Linked DNA regions of Homo sapiens: regions 1, 2, 4, 5 and 6 are each linked to region 3. The links are contacts of gene promoters, found by promoter capture Hi-C in human tissues and cell types (Jung and others, 2019). All regions are on one chromosome and are shown on one strand. The core of a region is centred on a gene start or on the middle of the fragment in contact, and the rest is flanking DNA. Distances in the headings are between cores, read along the strand shown.

Region 1 (3,315 bases), core at 275-2,774, 710 kb after region 3:
CTCCCCATGTTGCCAAGGCTGGTCTCGAATTCTTGGGCTCAAGCAGTCCTCCTGCCCAAGCCTCCCAAAGTACTAGGATTACAGGCATGAGCCTCCATGCCTGGCCCAGATAAATCTTAACACAGCAGTCTGTGGCTTCTCTCTTTCCAGCTCTGCTGAGGCCTGTCAAGGAAGCAGGGATCCTCCTAGAATCCCAGGCTTTGGGGAGTGTAGCTGGGCCAAGGGTCAGTGAGGCAAAACAGTGAGGAGTCCAGACCAATACAGTTCTAATTGGATCCAAGCAGCCAGACAATATCAATTAAAATGCACTTAGTCATGAGACTTACCCCCCTTCTAAGGGGCAGAAATGCTGAACGCTGTAGGGCACGGACAGACTTCTATTTATCTTTGTATCCTCAGTGTCTGGCTTGCTGCCCGGCACATGGTAGGCACTCAATAAATGGCTGGTGAATGAACTACCCAATTAAGGGAAAACATGAAAGAAATGGGAGGCATCCAATGAGAAGAAAGGCACTGGGCAGAGGTTTTAGATTCCCATCCCAGACTTTTCCTGTCACATAGACCTTGGCTTATCTACACACACACAGGCACACACACACACCTACCTATTCCACACACACACACACACATCCCTACCTATTTCCTCTTTTCCACGTGATACTGTAAAGTACACCACCCATCTTTCAAGGCCTGTTTCTTTGCCTTCTCTCTAAGCTCTGCAGTTTCCCTCAGCTTTGAAACCATATGACAAACCTGTTTGTAGGAAGCACAAATAGTGCCTTGGGTAGACTTCCTCCCTGCTCTGTGTTTCTTCAGTAACTGGTGTGTGTCCCAATCTCTGCATTTTTCATCTTGTGTATACTATACTGTCCCTGTTAGTTCCCTTCAGTGTGATTTCTTATTTGTCCCCGTGTCTCCACCTGACTCCAGTTCTGCAGAAGGCAATCAGCAAGTTTACTGACTGTCCTGAAGGAGGCTCAGGTCTGTTTACCATCCCCAAGTCTTAGGAAAGAAAAAGAAAAAAGTCCCGCCCTGGCCACTACATCCCACGAGAAACAAGACCTTAATAACAGTGTAAAAAGAAACTGCTGCCCAAAGAATGAAATCAGCGGGTGGAGGGTGGTCCTTCTAGGTTCTAGGAGCTCAGATGCCAAACAGATGGGATTGGTCCGAGATAGGAATGGAAAAGAAGAGAGAGAGGCTGCCTGCTAACAGTCACGACCTCCGACTCCGGCGGAGCACAGGGCACCGAGTGGTACACAGAGAGCATTTCCCTCCCAATGTGCGCCTCTATTTCCGGACAGACGGCCTCACTGCCAAGAGAGACTGGCCTCTCAGACTCTCCTAGGCGGGTAGCGTAGCTCACAGCGGGCACTGGGACACCCAGTGATTCGGCCGTGTCAGGCCCCACGGCAGAAGGAAAGGAATTCTGGGCCCGACGACTTCAATCCATCCCCACGGCGCCCCAGCTCTGTGACTCACCCGAACTCCACCTCCACTGACAAGGGCGCAGCCATGTTGAGGAAGCCGAGCTCGCAGGAAACTCCCCTCAACTTCCGGCGCGCCCGCAAATTTCCGGGCGTCTCCGGGTGCCGCGGACGGAAGAGGCGGTGCCCAGGGATCCAGCTTCGTCAGCTGTTGGAGGAAGTCATCGAGGGGAGGGGAGGGGAGGGGAGGGCAGCGGAGGGAAAGGGGTGGCAGAGGGACTATCACCGGCGCTGTTGGGGCTGTGAATCGGTCTCCTTCCGTCTTTCACCGACTGGGCTCAGAGACCCAGGGTGGGAAGCGCCTTGTACGGGACCACAAGCAGGCGGAGGAGAGCCCCCAGGTTTTTTGCGACGTGACCGTGAGCCACGTAGCTGCTTATCTTGCATGAGTTAGAATCTCTTCAGTCTACACACCGCTTGGGCCAGCCCATCTACTCGTCTGGTTGGAATTATAAATGACTCCCAGATCTTTATTTCCGACCCAGAATCTCTCCTGAGCGGGCGACTCGCTATCCAGCCGCCCCCTTTGCTGTCGATTTGGAAGTCACTCGTTCAACAGCTGTTCATTGCGCCTCCCTGTGCCAGGCATTTTGATCGGTGCTAGTGGTAAAGGGGATGGGCAAGGTTCCTGCCTTTAGGGCACTCACAGTCTAGCGGGGAGACTAACTGTAATCAAATAAGCATACTAAGACATGTACAACCTCAAACTTAAATAAAGGAACTGAAGTTATAGGAACTTCAAAAAGAAAACTGAGTAGACTGGACTTGCTGGGCTCTAAAACCTGAGTAAACTAGGTGGCTGTGAGGGGAGAGAAACCTCTAGGAGCATTCCAGTGAGGAGGACAAAAGGCCCAGAGGCTCTGGGTGAGAACATGCTGGAACATGGAGAGGAAGGTGGAAGTTAGGGAGCCTGACTTTCATCCATCTAGAGAGGGAGCTGCAAAGGTGCTCAGGGGCCAACCCCTGCCTTGTAAGCAGGTAAACATTTCAGTCTCTAGGAGCAGTGGGAGACTACTGAAGGGTTTTGGGAGACAGTGACATTTTAGAATTGTGTTTTAAAATATAATTTCTGGCTGCAATATGGAGAATGATTTGAGGGGAATAAGGAAAGAGACACGGAGACCACTGGAGCCTGTTGCAAAAGCTCAGGGCAGGCCGGGCGCGGCGGCTCAGGGCAGGCCGGGCGCGGCGGCTCACGCCTGTCATCCCAGCAATTTGGGAGGCCGAGGCAGGCGGATCACGAGGTCAAGAGATCAAGACCATCCTGGCCAACATGGCAAAACCCTGTCTTTACTAAAAAAATACAAAAATTAGCTGGATGTGGTGGCGTGCGCCTGTAGTCCCAGCTACTCGGGAGGCTGAGGCAGAAGAATCGCTGGAACCCGGGAGGTGGAGGTTGCAGTGAGCTGACATCGAGCCACTGCACTCCAGCCTGGTGACAGAGCAAGACTCTGTCTCAAAAAAAAAAAAAAGCCCAGGGCAGAAATGGAATGAAGTTGGCCAGGCACAGTGGCTTATGCCTGTAATCCTAGCACTTCGAGAGGCCACGATGGGCGGATCACGAGGTCAGGAGTTCAAGACCAGTCTAGCCAACATGGTGAAACCCTGTCTCTACTAAAAATACAAAAATTAGCCAGGCATGGTGGCAGTCTCCTGTAATCCCAACTACTCTGGAGGCAGAGGCAGGAGAATCCCTTGAACCCAGGAAGCAGCAGAGGTTGCAGTGAGCCGAGATCGTGCCACTGGACTCCAGCCTGGGCGACAGAGTGAGACGCTAAAAAAAAGAAATGGAATGAAGTAGACGGCCTATGGGTATCTAAACACCAAC
Region 2 (3,480 bases), core at 951-3,450, 630 kb after region 3:
GCTAGGATTGCACAGGCATGAGCCACCGCACCTGGCCCCCCAAAGTGGGGGGAGATCAGAGAGGCTGGAGCGACCAGGGGGTGGCAGGGAGGGTGGGGCAGAGACAGGGAGGTCCAAAATTATCATCTTGCCCTCTTTACAAACACTTGGGGAAAATAATGCAACATCAAAATGCAAGGAAAAAAATACTTGAGCACTTTGGTATGCGTTTTGCTGTATATGTATTACATCGTGATTTTAAAAAGAGGGGAAAAAAAAAAAATATATATATATATATAGACCTCTACTGATCCTTTAGCCAAGGAATACCAAAACTGAGAAGACAGGCTTTTTTCCCTAATCATTTAGAACATTGTTCACGTAAAGCCAATAGCTTTGGGAAATCTCTCAGTGGGTTTCTTGTCAAACCACCTGGATTCCATTATCTTGCTAACTGCCACATCCACCTCCTACGTGTTATTTATTTACACCTCGACTCCCTTCAAAAAGGCTCTGAACCTAGTACTCTATTATATAAAGACAACAAGAGTGACCCTGTTTGCTTCCAGGAAGCTGTGACATCTGGGGAGGGAAGGAGCGAGGGAGGTAGAGCTAGGATTGTGTATACATTTCGTTCCCCCTTCCCTTTAAAAACGATTTTTAAACGTTTTGGTCCAGACTTTCAGCAAACACAATGAGGAAGCTGGAAGCCTCAGGCGAGCCTGCCCTGGGGACCCCTGGCCACCTTTCCCTGCCCTCCGGCGCAGGCGCCTCCCACATCGGCAATACCTGGGGGAGCCGCCTGAGGATGAGGCAGACATGGCTAGGCATCAAAGCCGCAAAGGTGGGCAATTGGGTCAGCAGGCTCTGCTCAGGGGGACCCAGAGGGGCAGGCTTGTCAATGAGCCTCTCAAGGGGCCCGGCATCAAACGTCCTCTCTGAGGGGAGAAGGGTGGAAGCTTTGGGGTTGGCAGTTGGATGAAAACTTGGGAGGCGCTCCTCTACTGTCCAAGTCGCACAGCAACTGTCCTGCCAAAGTAGGGGGAAATAGTAGAGGCTGAGCGACCTGGGGGCAGAGGGGAGGAAGGGGAGGGGACGGGGCAGAACCGCGAGGGAAAGGACCACCGCGCCCGGGTCCCACGCGGAGGACTGCCGGTGGCTACCGGGGGAAACCTGAGGCGCCGGCGGACGTGCGGAGAGGGCGGGTGAGAACCGCTCGGCCCCAAGTGGGCCCCAGAGGGCCAGAACCGCGCAGGGAGCCGCGGGGATGCTGGGGCGGGGCCGGACAACTGTCTCCTAGGAGAAGGGGCGTTACGGAAGAACAGATGCCCGAGAGGACCAATAGTGTTTAAAGGAGGGAGGCGCGGAGGTTGCACGGGCCCCGGGCGCCCCGCCGCGAGGGAAAACCGAACAGAGTTCTGAGCAGGATAGACGCCGGGCTGGGAGGGGGCGGGCGGGACCCCCCCCCGCCGGGCGAGGGCCCTGGCAAGCCGGAGACGGTGCCCGGGGGACAGCGCTGCCTACGGAGGGCGTACAAGTGACTGCCATGTGGAGGCCCGAGGAGAGGACGAGGCGGTCGGGGCGATGCCGCCGACGGGCAGCAGAGCGAGGGAGAGCCTCTGTCGGCGGAGAGAAGGGACGGCCACCCACCAGCAGGCAGGAGGGTACCGGTTTCTGCCCATAGAGAGAAAGGTGAAGCCCTGCCCGCGGGCGGCAGAGGAGGGGCAGAGCCCCGTGGTAGCCAAGAGAGGAAGGAGGCGGCCGACCGCCCGTTAGCGGGAGGAGGAGAGGCCCCGCGCCGGTGGGCGGGGCGGGGGCCCAGGTTCTGACAGGAGGGGGACGAGCGCAACGCGGCGGGGAACCCAGGACCCGACGGCCCCGCGGGGTCGACCGCGCCGGGGGTGCGAAGGCGACGGTCTCGCCCGCGGTGCCCCGGAGGGCGCTGGATCCCGCCTGCCGGCGGCCTCTCACCAGGAGCGACACGGCTGCGCCCAGAAACGCCGCCTTATGAAGTCGTTGAAGTCGGAGGCCAGGGTCGTGCCATGGAGACGCCGCGGCGGATGCAGTCTGGCTCTGGCAGCGGCTCCTCCCCGCTTCCGCCTCCTTTTCCGACACCCGGTCGGCAGCTCGCCCATTGGCCAGTTCAAACCCCCCCGGGAGCCGCTTGGGTTTCGCCATCGAGGCCCAGCCCCTAGCGTCACAGAGATGCCCCGCCCCGCCAGAAGGGCCGCCCACTTCCGGGCCACGCGTCCCGTCACCAAGGAGACGTGCTACGCGTCCAGCGGGCCTGGCCGGGTCTCGCCCCCCATTCAAGGCCTTTCCCGCTCGGCCCTGTTTCCCCTGCCTTGGATCCTCCCGGATTCCCCTCACTCAAAGGAGCGTACGGTTCCGACGCCCTCCCCTCGGTACCCACCAGGAAACTAGGCTCACAGAGGACCCATGGAACTAGTTATTGGGAGCTGCACACTGCCTCCGAAAATCCAGCCCTGCCCCTAGTCCACTATTAATGCGGAGATGGAGTCGGCTTCTGCGCATTCCCCGGCCTCTCCCCTGCCCACATCGCCTCTGTCTTGGCCCCAACAGGAGAAAGGGTCGGCATTCCCCTTGCTGTTCTGTTCACTACCTTCCTGCACTTTTTTTTTTTTTTTTTTTTTTTTTTTTTTTTTTTTTTTTGAGACAGATTCTTGCTCTGTTGCCCAGGCTGGAGTGCAGTGGCGCGATCTCGGCTCACCGCAACCTCCGCCTCCCGGGTTCACGCCATTCTCCTGCCTGAGCCTCCCGAGTAACTGGGACTACTGGCGCCCGCCACAACGCCCGGCTAATTTTTTTTTGTATTTTTAGTAGAGACGGGGTTTCACCGTGTTGGGCAGGATAGTCTCCATCTCCTGACCTCATGATCCACCCGCCTCGGCCTTCCAAAGTGCTTGTATTACAGGCTTGAGCCTCCGCGCCCGGTCTACTACCCTCCTGCACTCTCTATGCCGCTCTGTGTACAGACCTATTCTGATGAGGTCCTTGCTGGTCCGCCATCTTCTCAATTATGCTTCACTGTCAGCCAGTCAGGGGAGGTCTGTCACGTGGCTCATAATGCCGCCCTGGAATCTGGGAGACCTGAACCACCTCCGGGCCAACTGGGCCACAGTCCCTTGACCTTTCTCCAGTGACCCCGCAGCACCTTAGCCACACAGCTCCAGGGTCACACAAGTGTTTCACCTGCAATCCTAAAGTCAGACTCGCAAACAAAACCTGCTTTTCCGCCTCGCTTTCACAGTATACTGCATACTGAATTTGTTCTGTAATGTCAGGGAGCTCCCCAATCCCTTGATCCATTCATTGTCTCTCTGTTGAATAATTGATAGATTTCCTAATCCTCATTAACCATTTAAGACTGCGGTGGCTCACGCCTGTAGTCCCAGCACTTTGGGAGGCTGAGGCAGGCGGATCACCTAAGGTCAGAAGTTCAAGACCAGACTGCCCAACATAGCGAAACCCCGTCTCTAC
Region 3 (3,362 bases), core at 733-3,232:
CCAAGGACCAAACTCGAGTTCCCTGAGCGCATCGTGCCCTGTCCTACTTCTGGACCTTTGCACACAGTTTCCCCCCACCTGGGACGCTCTCTGGGTGAACTCAACAAACAACTAAGAACCCACCACAGTGGCAAAAAAAAAGACACATATGTCCCTGCTAGTGCAGAGCTTGAGGTCTGACGGGAGAATCTGCCATCCAGACTCAGTTCATGATCCACTAATGTAGATATCAGGACAGCATCTGGGAGTAGAGACAGGGTCTCTTTATATCCCACTCTATCCCCCAAGCCCAGCACAGGGCCTGGCTCTTAACTGGGCTCAAAAACTGTTGAATGAATGAAGTAAGCAAGTGACGGTGTGAAGAGGGGTGTGACGGAGAAGTGCAGGGAACCATGGAAGCATTAATAGGGGACTAGACCTCACCAGATGCTCCAGGCTCAGCCAGGTCCATCACAGCCTGTATCATGCTGCACACAACTGCCTGCCAGGTTCCTTCTGGCTTGTTGGATTGTGAGCACTCCAAGAAGCTACTCTGAGGCCAGGAGGGGAAGCTGTGAAGGTGCAGAGGCCTTAGCAAGTCTTTCCCCACCTCCAGGCTTTGGCTTTCCTCTTATAAAGCAGCTGGTTTTCATAGTGCAGGAATGCAGGGATATTTCAGGCCTGTTAAGCATTCTAAAAACCAGAGCTAGCCCAGGGCCTAGCACTCAGAAGTGTTCAGTGGATATTGACTGAATGAATGAATGGATGAATGAATGGTAGACAGGCAGGCAGGCAGGGCCCAGGACCTGGCAGGGCCATACCACCCCCAGTACAACCCAGAACACCAGCGTCAACGTTCTTTGGCATTCAGTCCTGGTGCCCTCAGCGGACCCAGGTTCTCACATCTCGCAAGACAGCAGCATGAGCAGGCCCTTCCCAGGCAACCAGGGCTCAATGAGGGGCTCCAGCCTTCCCTGGCACTCAACCATCTTACCCAGGGAGGGTCTTGCAAGGTGGGATAACATTAACTGCAGGTATTTACTGAACGCTTACTGCATGCCGGGCACTGTACTCAGCCCTTCTTGTGCCTCCTGCTATTTGATGCTCATACCATCACCAGAAGGTAAGCACTGTAATCAGTCCCACTTTAGAGATGAATTAACTTAAGCAGAGGCAGGCACCTGCACAAGGCCTCAGCCTCAACTGGAGCCCAGATGGGTCTGACCCCCACGCCCAGGCTCTGCGCCACTCTTACTAGACAGCCTCCAGAACGCCGCTAATGGACCTCTCAACTGGAAAGCCCTGCACTTCGAGAGGTGTGTCTGATGGGAAGCAACAGAAGTCAAGTTCCCGGAGGCTGCCCGCCCCCTCATCGGGTCCTCTCTGTTGTGGAATCGTGCCCTGCTCAGGGCGTGGCACCACAAGTACTCAAAAGCCTGGCTTCGGCTTGCACACTCCCAGCAACGGGGAGCTCTTTCTCTTACAAGCAGCCCAAAGCACTGTTCGAAGGAAACAAGACACTCCCTGCACGCTGGAACAGGAGTGCGGCCTCTCTGGGACAGGGGAGGGCGGGGAAGAAGGGCCAAGGTCCAGGCCAGGGATCTTTTCTCGCCTCACACAGATCCTCAACCCATTTCAGCCCACCGGCGCCCCGGGACCCGGGGGAGCGCCCTGGCCGCGCAGCCGCAGAGTGCGCGAGCGAGCGCCTCACAATTTCGCCCAGCTCATCCTCGCACCACTGCGCCTGCGCGGCGCGCGCGCCGGCCGAGCCCCTCCGTGGTTCACTATTTGACAGTTCCCACCCCGGTCCCCCGGCGCCCCCTCCGCGGGCTCGAGCAGGCCGGAGCGCCCGGGACTGAGAGGCCGTCCCTGGGAAGGCGTCCTTGGAGCCGGGACCGCCTTTTACCTGCAGGATATTCGACGTGGGTGAGGGTCACCGGCCGCCATGAAGCGGGGAGCGAGCACTGTCCGTCCGCTGCCATCTTACCCGGAGACCGGGCTTCTTCGAGCAGCCAATGGGGAGCCAGGGGGGCGGTGGTCCTGACCTATCACGCCGGGGAGGCGCCGTGCACCCAATCGGAGGCCAATATAGGTAGCGGCGCAGCCATTCAGCGTGCAGGCCGTGGGGGCTGGCCCGAGCGGCGAATCAGAGAGCGGGGCCCCTGGGAGCCAACGAGCCGCCCCAGCTGGCGCCCAATCTGGGGCGAGCGCAGGTAGGCATCTGGCCAATCAGAGAAGGGGAGGGTTCCAGCACCGAACAGGGAGCATAACAGCCAATCAGAAGGTGAGGCTGCCTCAGCTTGTGGGCAGGGCGGGCCAATCAGGCGCTGGCTTTGGGGGCGTGTTGAACTTTGGTGGGAGCTTTGGTTCGGCTGGGACCTGCGCCCTGAATGAAGGCTTCCCTGGTACCCCCTGCCGATCCGCGGTCTTGGGGACCTGCGCGTCCGATAGCGCGTGCTCGAAGAGGAGAGGCAACCTCAGCTCCAGGGGGTTTGAACCGACCCACTTTCAGTTACGAGTAAACTGAGACCAGAGAGCAGAGGGGGCTTATTTCCCTCTGCCCCATACTGGCCGGCGAAAGGGCAAGTCACACAGAGCAGGCGACCTTTTTGTCAAAAGTGTGTGGGGCGGGGCGCGCAGTAGGCGCCCTAAACGCTGGACTGAACAGAGAAGCTTAATTGATACTTAAGAGTGGAAGCTTAGCTACAGTTAAGGACTCCTTCCTCCTTTCATTCATTTAATAAAGATTTATTGATTCAGTCACGTCTATGCTACTTAATGAGGCGTCTTGGGAGCATTTCAAACAAGAAGTCGGTTTTCCACCTACCCCTCAGTTTTCCCAAGACATTCCTGCGTGAACAGCCACACCTTCCCACCCGCCTTCACCTCTCCTACCCGACTCTGTCTCTGGCTGGATTGGATTACAGTGCAGGTAAGGTGGGCTGGGAGGGCTCAGCCTCTTGTCTCCTGCCGCTAGCATGTGCTGTTTTTGTCTGTTTGTTTGTTTTTTGAGACAGGGTCTTGCTCTGAGGCCCAGGCTGGAGTGCAGTGGAACGATCTTGCTCAGCCTCCTGGGTCCAAGTGATTCTCCTGTCTCAGCCTCCCGAGTAGCTGTGACTACAGGCGCGCACCACCGCATCCGGCTAATTTTTGCATTTTTAGTAGAGACCGGGTCTTACCATGTTGGGCAGGCTGGTCTCGAACTCCTGGCCTCAGGTGATCCACCTGCCTCGGCTCCCAAAATGCTGAGATTACAAGCGTGAGCCGCCATGCCCAGCTAATTTTTTTTTTTTTTTTTTGAGACGGAGTCTCGCTCTGTTGCCCAGGCTGGAGTGCAGTGGCACGCCCGGCTAATTTTCGTACTTTTCGTAGAGACGGGGTTT
Region 4 (3,270 bases), core at 533-3,032, 530 kb after region 3:
CCAGCAGGTTGCAGTAAAATGTTTGATCAGATATTCAGCTCTGGGTACAAAATGGCTAACACAATTGTAGCTCCCTAAAATTTCCAAGACCTTCTGCTCCAGCAAAGAAAGCACCTTGGGACTGAGGGGCAGGAGCTGTTCAAAAGGGAGGGTTTTTCTATTAAATCACCCTGGCCCCATAGTGAACTGGGGGTTCTGCTGCTTTTGCTGGATGCAAAATGGAGACCTAAGAGAGAGCTCTGTATTGATAGAGAAACTAAAATCTTATTTGATTCTTTGTGTGATCTGAGACATGACCAAGAAACAGTATCCCCAGCGCTCTCCACCTCCCACCCACTCACCCTGCCTTCTCTGCACTTGGCACTTGAAACCAGCCATTCTTCACTGTTCTGTTGTCTGCCTACCTCACCTCCCACCAGTTTCACCATATGCCTAACACCCTAGTAGGTGTGGAAAGCTGGGGGAAAAAACAACAACAGAAAAAGCACAGGACAGTGTAACGACTTTGTAACCAATCAACTCCATGTTCTCAGTCACACCTCTCCTGGCCTCCTAAAAAGCAGAGGGTTGGACTGAATTCTCAACTCCTTTTTCTAGTTTCAGCAATCCTCAGAAGGTTTGATAGGCACCCTAAGCTTAAGCGTCTAGATAGTCCCAATACTTTTTCAGGTTGTTGAAAAGGTCAACTGTTGGAAAACACACTAATTGTGGTGATGTGTCCATATGTTCCAGCCAGGGAAAGTCACTTGCCCACTCTCCCTGGGAGAGACCCCTTCCCCTCCCCTCCCCTCCACACCCTGTCTCACCCCCTGCAAAGATAACAGGCAAGCACTTCCACTATTTTTCTTCCCTAGAAGGGAGCTGATTGGGAAGAGTCATGCTGGCAAGTGGACTGCACTTCCCATATGACATTCTGCAGTGTCAGAGCTGGCAAGAAATAACACAGCTCTTCAAATCACAGTGCCTGGATGAACCTTGAAGGCTTTATGCTAAGTGAAATACGCCAGACACATAAGGATGAATACTGTATGACCATTCCACTTATATGAGATCCCTAAAATTGTCAGATTCATAGAGACAGAAAAAACTGTTGTTACCAGGGTCTGAGGGGAGGGAGGAATGGGTTATTATTGTTTAGTGGGAAAGTTTCCGTCTGGGATGGTGAAAGAGAGTTCTGGAGAGGATGGTGGTGATGGTTGCACAACACTGTGACTGTACATAATGCCACAGAACTGTACACTTACAAATGGTTAGGCAGGGCTTGGTGGCTCACGCCTGTAATCCCAGCACTTTGGGAGGCTGAGGCGGGCGGATCACTTGCGGTCAGGAGCTTGAGACCATCCTGGCCAACATGGTGAAACCCTGCCTCTACTAAAAATACAAAAATTAATCGGGTGTGGTGGTGCACACCTGTAATCCCAGCTACTCGGGAGGCTGAGGCAGGAGAGTCGCTTGAACCCGGGAGGCGGAGGTTGCAGTGAGCCAAGATCGCGCCATTGCACTCCAGACTGGGCGACAGATTGAGACTCCGTCTCAAAAAAAAAAAAAAGGTTAAACTTTTTATGTTCTATATATTTTACTACAATCAAAAGACAAAGCAAAACACAAGCCCCTGCTTCTAAAATCAAGCACCACATTAGAGAAGCAGCCTGATAGGCTCTGGGAGTGTGGCCTTACCAGGGTTTTAAGACTCCAGGTGACAGCAGAGATGTAAACTCCTCCCTCCCCTCCCCTAATCCGACCTTGTAATCTGGCTCCGGTCATTTCACATCTGTTCCCTTGCAGGGCTGCCTGCTAGGCCTGGTCAGTCCGTGTCCCTCCTGCTTACCTTGAACCCACTACTACAGTTAGTTTCACAAATCACGTCAAACCTTCTCAACAAGTTTCAGTTGTTTCCCATTGCCTACGGAATAGGCCGAAATTTGCAGCCTCCACAATCTTGTTCCAATTTACCTTTTCACAGCATCATTCCCTACAGTTCTGCTCTACTGGTCTGAGGTTAGCCTCTTTCCAAAACATGTTATTTCTCCAACTCCATGCTTTTGTGAACAATTTTTTCCTCCAATTAGAACATCCTTTCCCAACACTCATGCCTCCTTTCTGCCTGAAAATCTTACCCATTTTGAGTATATGTAAGTAGAACCTTTCTGGAAGAGCAGTTGGCAATGTGGATCAAAATATAAAATTTGCATGCCATTTGACCCAGCAATGTTAGTTACATCTAGAAATCTGCCTTAAGCAGGACAAGATGCATTTTCATTCAGGACGGGCGTGGTGGCTCACACCTGCAATCCCAGCACTTTAGGAGGCTGAGGCAGGCAGATCACTTGAGCCCAGGAGTTTAAGACCAGCCCGGGCACCATGGCAAAACCCCATCTCTACAAAAAAATGCAAAAATTAGCCAGATGTGGTGGCTTGCGCCTGTAGTCCCAGCTACTCAGGAGGCTGTGGGAGGATCACCTAAGCGCGGGAGGTCAAGGCTGCAGTGAGCCATGACTGTGCTACTGCATTCCAGCTCAGGCAATAGAGTGAGACCTTGTCTCAAAAAAAAAAAAAAAAAAAAAAAGAATGTTAATAATTTAAAAAAATATATTAGGCATAACCTAGTCACCAAGTGAAAAATGATTAATTACGATTCATAAATTCAAGACTATATTCATGATATAATACTTATTGACTTGAGAAAATATTTGAAGTGTTACTGAATTTTAGGTTACATGAATGGTACTCAGTCCATTTAAGTAAGAATTATAGGCTGGGCGCAGTGGCTCACGCCTGTAATCCCAGCACTTTGGGATGCCAAGGAGGGTGGATCACCTGAGGTCAGGAGTTCGAGACCAGCCTGACCAACATGATGAAACCTCGTCTCTAGACTAGAATTTCAACCCCAGCTTTCCTGGGTTTCCAGCTTGCAGATGGCAGATTGTGGGACTTCTCAGTCTCCATAATCTCATGAATAAATTCCTCGTAATTAAATCTCATCATATCCCTGTCCATCCATCCGTCTCCTATTGGTCTGTTTCTCTGGGGACCCTAATACAGTGAACTTCCATAGGCCTGTCACCCAGCTCCAACAGTTATCAACATTCTGCCATTCTTGTTTGTTTTTTTGAGACTGAGTCTCGCTCTTGTTGCCCAAGCTGGAGTGCAATGGCATGATCTCAGCTCACTGCAAACTCCGCCTCCCGGGTTCAAGTGATTCTCCTGCCTCAGCCTCCCGAATAGCTGGGATTACAAGCATCTGCCACCACACCCAGCTAATTTTTGTGT
Region 5 (3,346 bases), core at 599-3,098, 580 kb before region 3:
CCAACCCCTGGAGTCTCCCTTCATCAGGGTAAACCGGGACCTCTCCTCTGTCCTGGGGTTGGGGGACCGGCTCAGAGCCGCTGAGGTCCTCAAATGACCTTGGGCCGGCAGGGCATTCCCCCAGCACAAACCAGAGGGCACCTGCTTTCCTCCGGGCCAGAGTGGACATCTCCCTCCCCTTTTCTACTGAGGAGCTAAACCCCAACTCCTGGGAGGTCTGCTGGCTTCACACTCACCCCGGAGGGTGCAGCCAGTGGCCAGTCCACTGTGGCCAGTGAGTGGTGGCCGCTGCCATGAGGGAGCCAGTGGCTTCATCTCAGCCACAGGCTGGCAGAAGGTGCCCCGTGAAAGGCAGGCGTGTCGCAGGCGTCCTCGTGGACGCACATGGATTCAGACTAGGCTGCAGCCACCTCTGTTTTCCCTGCACCTCCTGTCTCTGAAAAGCCAAGGAACGCAGCCACCAGCCTGGGCACCCTGAGACCTGGAGGCTGGTGCCGGGAACAGGGTCCCCCGGGGCGGGTGGGAGGGCTGCTGGAGTCAGGCGGGCACACTTCAGGGGCCCAGAGCCCCCAGCAGGCCGGCCCATCCCCAGAGCTAGGGGACAGGGGCCTGGTTTCAGATCACCGGGCCCCCATCCTTAGTGTGTGCTGAGCCGCGAGGACTCCGGTCCTCCCCTCCCCCACTGAACCGTCCGGGGCTGGGGCCTTTGCTTTTTCTCCATCTTCTCCCCGTCCCTCCCCTTCTTACCAAGGGCTCAGGACCCTGCCATCCTGTGTCACTTTTTGAAAAAGGCCACTTGGGTGGGTTGTTTGTTTTTAAAGCCCCTTCCTGATGACCTTTGACCTCTGCCGGGGAAGAGAGGCCTGGCTGGGCCGTTCCACCGAGGCAGCTGCTCCCGGGGCAAACTGGAGGGTGGGGGGGGGTGGGCAGGCACCCTCGCCCCCCAAAGAGCCCAACTTAAGACCGAGGAGGAGCTGGGGCGGCGCTAGCTCGTGCGGGAGGGGGCGGGTTTGAAACCCCAACGTGCAGCTCAGCGGCTTTGCCCGACTCAGGTCTCTGTTTCCCCAGTTGTAACCCGGCAGCAGCCACACCCACTTCCCAGGCTGTTCGGGAGCCGAATACTGGGGAGCGAAGGCAGCGCACTTCCCCGTGGGGACGCACCCCAAGACCCGAAGAGGGTCCCCCTCCCCCAGCCCAGAGTGCTGGTCAACCGCCGTCCACCGTCACTTACACGCGCCCCCAGAAGTCCTGCCGCCGACCACGCGCCCTGCATCTTCGCCCGCCCCGCGCCGGCTCCCCGGACCCCGCGCCCCGGCCCCGGCCCCGGCCCCGGCCCCGCCACCCCCGTCCCTGGCCGGCCGTACTCACCATCCTGCGGCGCCGCCTCGCTGCCGCTGCTGCCCCCGGACGGCTCCCGTGCTGCGCCCTCCCGCGCCTCGGCCCTGGCCCCGGGGCGCGCCGCCAGCCGCCCGGCCGCCGCCACCTCTTCCAGGTCCAGGAGGTGGCTCACCGAGAAGTTCTTGCGCGCCTGGGCGCAGTCGCCGGGCCCCAGCGCGGGTGGAGGCGGCGGCGGCCCCGGGCCCAGCGCCGGCTTGTCCAGGGCGAAGGCGGCGGCCGCGCTGTCCATGCCCGCGAGCGGCCCCGGGGGGGCCGGCGGGGGTCTCGGGCTCGGGTCCCAGGAAGGGTCGCGGGCGCGGGTCGGAGCGAGAGCCCCGGCCGCCCCGCGCTCTGCCCAGCTCCCGCCGCCTCCTAGCCTCGCGGCCCGCCCGGCGCTGACGTCGGGGAAACAAACTTTCCGCCCTCCCCTTCTCAGCCACGGCCGCTCGCTCCGGAGCCGCTGGTGCACGCGCTGCGCCGGCCACACGCCCCTTCTTGAAGCAAACCTCGCCCCCCGTCCTCTCCTCCGCCCTCTCCTCCCCGCGCGCCTCGCCCGCCCCCACCCCGGCTGCTGGCGCTGGGGGCGGGGAAGGGGTGTCCTCCCTTCACCCTCCCCACCCACTTTTTAGGGAGTGGGAGGTTCCGTGTTTTGTCGTTTTCCATCCCCCAAGTATCTGGGAGGTGATGGCAGAGGGATTCCCCCCTTCCCTTTACAATCGCCTCCGCAGGTGGAGGGGGCGGCCCAGAGACGAAGGCGACGAGCCCCCCACTCCCAGCTCCAGCCTCACTCGCCTCAGCGCCCCCAACAACGGCCCCGCCCGCCCGCGCTGGCCGACAGAGCTCTGTGCACACCACCCGCCCCAAGGCTGTCTCTCCCAGCAGGCAGCGCATCCTCAGGCTCCTGGGGTGTACGCGACCCCCCACCCCGCCTCTCCCCCGCTGCTCCCTGCCAGGTCCCCCACACACACCCACACACCCGGTGCCCACCCCCCAGGAGGCCCCAGGCCCTTCCCCAAGGAAAACCAAGCGGAGAGGCAGGCGCTTCGTTGCAGAATTCCTGGCGCACACACAGAGGACAGCCAGCCTGAGACGGGTGACAGGAAAGAGAGAGGCAGACTTAGGTGTCCGCTCTTGTTTCAGTTTTGTTTTTCAATGAAAGCACAGAAAAGATGTGCGGAGTGAGCAGACCTGAGACCCTAAGCCCCCCGGATGCCACTGCTCTTTCTCCAGGACAGCCGCTCACCGGCCCGTCCCTCTGTCGCCCTGCCCTCACTACGAGGCATAAAGTCACATCAGCCAAAGTCGCCTACCGGAGGAAGCCTTCAGCACATCCTTTCCCTGTTCCCATATGGAAAACCGGCCCGCACACATCCCTGAAAGCCTGCGGACCATTATTTTTATTTATTATTTATTATTATTATTTATTTTTATTTTTTTGAGACAAGAGTCTGGCTCTGTCGCCCAGGCTGGAGTGCAGTGTCGTGATCTCGGCTCGCTGCAACCTCCGCCTCCTGACTTCAAGCGCTTCTCCTGCCTCAGCCTCTCGAGTAGCTGGGATTACAGGTGTGCATCACCATGCCCGGGTAATTTTTGTATTTTTAGTAGAGGAGGGGTTTCACCATGTTGGCCAGTCTGGTTTCCAGCGTCTGACCTCAGGTGATCCACCTGCCTCGGCCTCCCACAGTGCTGGGATTACAGGCGTGAGCCACCGCACCCAGCCGGGAACACTATTTTTAAGGAAAGCCTAGCAATACATTATAATACATTAATCCTCACAGCGTGTGTTGTTTGTGTCCGCCCCCACCCCCTCCCGCGCTGGAAAGGAATCGACTTCAAAATGAGGCCGAGTAGGCCGGGCACAGTGGCTCACGCCTGTAATCCCAGCACTGTGGAAGGCTGAGGTGGGTGGATCACCTGAGGTCAGGAGTTCGAGACCAGCCTGGCTAACATGGTGAAACCCTGTCTCTAC
Region 6 (3,541 bases), core at 981-3,480, 720 kb before region 3:
GTCTCATTCTGTTGCCCAGGCTGGGGTGCAGTGGCCCATTCTCAGCTGACTGCAACCTCAGCCTCCCAAGTAGCTTGAATTACAGGCGCACGCCATCACGCCCGGCTAATTTTGTATTTTCAGTAGAGACGGGGTTTCTCCATGTTGGTCAGGCTGGTCTCGAACTCCCGACCTCAGGTGATCCGCCCGCCTTGGCGGATCCCAAAGTGCTGGGATTACAGGCGTGAGCCACTGCACCTGGCCCTGACTACATCTCTCTTTTTTTTTTTTTTTTCTGAGACAGAGTCTCACTGTGTCGCCCAGGCTGGAGTGCAGTGGCGCGATCTCGGCTCAGTGCAAGCTCCGCCTCCCGGGTTCAGGCCATTCTCCTGCCTCAGCCTCCCGAGTAGCTGGGACAACAGGTGCCCGCCACCATCCCCGGCTAATTTTTTGTATTTTTAGTAGAGACGGGGTCTCACCGTGTTAGCCAGGATGGTCTCCATCTCCTGACCTCGTGATCCGCCCCCCTCGGCCTCCGAAAGTGCTGGGATTACAGGCGTGAGCCACTGTGCCAGGCCTTTTTTTTTTTTTTTTTTTTGAGACCGAGTACGGTGGCGCGATCTCAGCTCACTGCAACCTCTGCCACCCAGGTTCAAGCGATTCTCCTGCCTCAGCCTCCCAAGTAGCTGGGATTACAGGTGCGTGCCACCGTGCTCAGGTAATTTTGGTACTTTTAGGTAGAGATGGGGTTTCACCATGTTGGCCAGGCTGGTCTCAAACTCCTGGCCTCAAATGATCCGCCCGCCTCGGCTTCCCCAAAATGCTGGGATTACAGGCGTGAGCCACGGCGCCAGGCCCTTGGCTCCCCATCTTTTAATGGAAATAACATCCCCTACCCCACTGGACTGTTTTGGAACCAAGTAAGAGAAATGTTGTAGGAGAGCTTTGTAACTACCTGGACTAAGTGTGCCTTAACTCAGTGGAGCCGGGGGCTACAGCAACACAAAGGAAAGAGAAGCAGAGGCCAGAGTTAGTGAGCAGGTCACCCGGACCAGTCCGACTGGCCTGCAGACGAGATAATAGCGGGTTCTCTTGCCTGGTACAGTTTTATCTTCTGCTCATGAGGGAAGTGCAGAGTCGATACAAACAGGTGGACAAAGTTACTCTTCAGACCTTTTGGGTGAAGATTTTCAGCCACAATTTGACTGACAAAATTCTTGCCTGTGCCAGCCCAGCCGTGTAAGGAAAGGGTCAGTGGTTTCTTGGGATTTTTGTTGTTCCTGAAGCCAGTCAGCGCCTTGAAAATCACTTCCGTGGCTAGATGCTGTCCAAACAGCTTCTCCTCCAAATCCAGCTTGAGAGCTGCAAGAACAGCCCCAGAACAAAGAGAGAAACAGACCTTAAAAATGCATCAGCAACGCAGCACTTTCTTAGCTGGCCAAAGCAAGAAGCACAGATTATCCAGGGACACAGCAGGGTGTCTGCCACACCCTAGGGCCGAGGCAGTCAAACGATGCCACTTTCAAGATTATGTGGAGGTCCTTAACGCTTCGGGGTCTGATAAGGAAGCTAAATGTTCATTCATTCAGAGATGAACCATCGCTTGACTGAGCGCTTGCTAATCCCAGCCACCCTTGCTGACCTGCAGGAAAACCAGGGGCCAAATGTGGGCTTTCTGGGCGACGCAGCACGTCTGAAAACTACTTAATAGGGTTGGCAGGGCGCAGAAGGGCCGCCCGCCTACTTTCCGTTTCTTCCACCTGTGATCCCAAGGAACGGGAGCTTTAGAAAGGCGCTGGGGCAGCCCCACGATCTGGAGACTGTTTGCGAAGGCACCGCTTCTGCGTTCCCGCGAACGGTTCCGGGGCCGCCCCATCCGCTCCCCGCCCACCCCAGCTGGGACCACCGCCGTCTAGATGCCACGGGCCCGGTCCGTGCCAGGCGCCCACGAGGCCGTCCCTCCGCGCCCCCGCGCCCCCGCGCCCCCCGCAGCGCCGACCCACAGCTCGCGCGCGCGCCGTACCCGAAGCGTTGAGCGGCCGCTCCTCGCGGCAGCACTCGGCGAAGCGGCAGTAGATGTCATTGTAGGACAGGTAGCCGGTGATGGCCGACGCGGCCCCGATGGCTAGGCCCACGGTGATGGGCTCGAACGCCGCCACCACTCGGGCCGCCAGCAGCAGCGCCAGCGCCGCCGCGCCCCGGAGCCACCCAGCCCGCAACATCCCGCTCCTCGAAGCCCGCAGAAGCCACTGAGCCAGGCGCCCCGCGGCCAAGCGGCAGGACGGACTTCCTCTCGTGCGTCACTTCCGCCCCGCAGACCCGCCCACTCCCTTGGGGGCGGCCATGTTGGTGAGGGGCGGAGAGGAGGGCGGTGCCATCGTTCTTGGGAGTGGTCCGAAGGTGTAGGAGACTGTTTTGTTTCCCTTTTCTTTTAAAAAAATTTTTTCGGGCCGGGCGCGGTGGCTCACGCCTGTAATCCCAGGACTTTGGGAGGCCGAGCCGAGATCACGCCATTGCACTCCAGCCTGGGCAACAAGAGTGAAAAAATATCTAAAAAAAAAAAAAAAAATTTTTTTTTTTTGGCCGGGCGCCGTGGCTCACGCCTGTAATCCCAGCACTTTGGGAAGCTGAAGCGGGCGGATCACCTGATGTCAGGAGTTCGAGACCAGCCTGCTCAACGTGGCGAAACCCCGTCTCTACTAAAAATACAAAAAATTAGATGGGTGTGGTGGCGGGCGCCTGTAATCCCAGCTACTCGGGAGGTTGAGGCAGGAGAATCTCTTGAACCCAGGAGGCGGAGGTTGCAGTTAGCCGAGATCGTGCCACTGCACTCCAGCCTGGGCGACAAGAGCGAAACTGTCTCAAAAAAAAAAAAAAAGGCTGGCCGGGCGCGGCGGCTCACGCCTGTAATCCCAGCACTTTGGGAGGCCGAGGCAGGCGGATCACGAGGTCAGGAGATCAAGACCATCCTGGCTAACACAGTGAAATCCCATCACTACGAAAAATAGAAAAAATCAGCCGGGCATGGTGGCGGGCGCCTGTAGTCCCAGCTACTCGGGAGGCTGAGGCAGGAGAATGGCGTGAACCTGGGAGGCGGAGCTTGCAGTGAGCCGAGATCGTGCCACTGCACTCCAGCCTGGACGACAGAGCGAGACTCCGTCTCAAAAAAAACAAAAAAAAGCCAAAAAAAATTTTTTTAAACTTTCTTATATTTTTTTCTTATCTGATATGTATATTGGGGACAGGGTCTGGCTCTGTCGCCCCGGCTGGAGCGCAGTGGCAGGATCTCGGCTCGCTGCAAACTCTTCCTCCCAGGTTCAAGCGATTCTCCCATCTCAGCTGCTGGAGTAGCTGGGATTATAGGTGCCCGCCAACACGCCCAGCCAACTTTTGTGTTTTTAGTAGAGACGGGGTTTCGCCATGTGGCCCAAGCTGGTCTCGAACTCCTGACCTCAAGCGATCTACCTGCCTCCGTCTTCCAAAGCCTGGGGTTACAGGAGTGGGCTTATGGCTGGATTTGTTTTCTTCAGAGCTTCTCGGAGCCCTCAAGCTTTGCTTTGTT

The links. The method cuts DNA at HindIII sites, captures the fragments that hold promoters and counts their contacts. A contact is called where the count stands out against the background at its distance.
Region 1: a contact is called between the fragment with the promoter of URM1 here and the fragment with the promoter of DOLPP1 in region 3, in 1 of the 25 tissues and cell types used here (dorsolateral prefrontal cortex).
Region 2: a contact is called between the fragment with the promoter of ODF2 here and the fragment with the promoter of DOLPP1 in region 3, in 1 of the 25 tissues and cell types used here (spleen).
Region 4: a fragment that was not itself captured here is called in contact with the fragment with the promoter of DOLPP1 in region 3 in 1 of the 25 tissues and cell types used here (hippocampus).
Region 5: a contact is called between the fragment with the promoter of PRRX2 here and the fragment with the promoter of DOLPP1 in region 3, in 1 of the 25 tissues and cell types used here (mesenchymal stem cells).
Region 6: a contact is called between the fragment with the promoter of TOR1B here and the fragment with the promoter of DOLPP1 in region 3, in 4 of the 25 tissues and cell types used here (heart right ventricle, lymphoblastoid cells, mesenchymal stem cells and 1 more).

What each region holds. Positions count from the first base shown.
Region 1 is chr9:128,369,583-128,372,897 of GRCh38, reverse strand. URM1 (ubiquitin related modifier 1) reads right to left here and starts at 1,524. Exons shown (of 5, transcript NM_030914.4): 1 at 1,483-1,524. The coding sequence starts at 1,517. RefSeq lists enhancers at 1,326-1,425, 1,489-2,352, 2,353-3,217. The HindIII fragment of the contact is 22,131 bases long and covers 1-3,315 here.
Region 2 is chr9:128,454,726-128,458,205 of GRCh38, reverse strand. It overlaps ODF2 (outer dense fiber of sperm tails 2), which reads right to left and starts at 2,200. Exons shown (of 21, transcript NM_001351578.2): 1 at 1,951-2,200. The coding sequence starts at 2,114. RefSeq lists enhancers at 919-1,654, 2,248-2,297, 1,655-2,390, 2,428-2,517, 2,391-3,127 and 1 more and silencers at 1,048-1,097, 1,308-1,457, 1,488-1,587, 1,718-2,027. The HindIII fragment of the contact is 20,941 bases long and covers 1-3,480 here.
Region 3 is chr9:129,079,731-129,083,092 of GRCh38, reverse strand. DOLPP1 (dolichyldiphosphatase 1) reads right to left here and starts at 1,982. Exons shown (of 8, transcript NM_020438.5): 1 at 1,886-1,982. The coding sequence starts at 1,961. RefSeq lists a silencer at 1,555-2,284. The HindIII fragment of the contact is 10,069 bases long and covers 1-3,362 here.
Region 4 is chr9:128,547,527-128,550,796 of GRCh38, reverse strand. All of the region lies in intron 1 of LOC101929270 (a long non-coding RNA gene), which reads left to right. Among named protein-coding and RNA genes, the nearest start is that of SPTAN1, 3.4 kb to the left of the region's middle. The HindIII fragment of the contact is 3,897 bases long and covers 1-3,270 here.
Region 5 is chr9:129,664,149-129,667,494 of GRCh38, reverse strand. It overlaps PRRX2 (paired related homeobox 2), which reads right to left and starts at 1,848. Exons shown (of 4, transcript NM_016307.4): 1 at 1,369-1,848. The coding sequence starts at 1,627. The HindIII fragment of the contact is 13,961 bases long and covers 1-3,206 here.
Region 6 is chr9:129,801,873-129,805,413 of GRCh38, reverse strand. It overlaps TOR1B (torsin family 1 member B), which reads right to left and starts at 2,230. Exons shown (of 5, transcript NM_014506.3): 1 at 2,003-2,230; 2 at 1,076-1,341. The coding sequence starts at 2,201. RefSeq lists silencers at 1,841-1,960, 2,021-2,150. The HindIII fragment of the contact is 20,911 bases long and covers 1-3,541 here.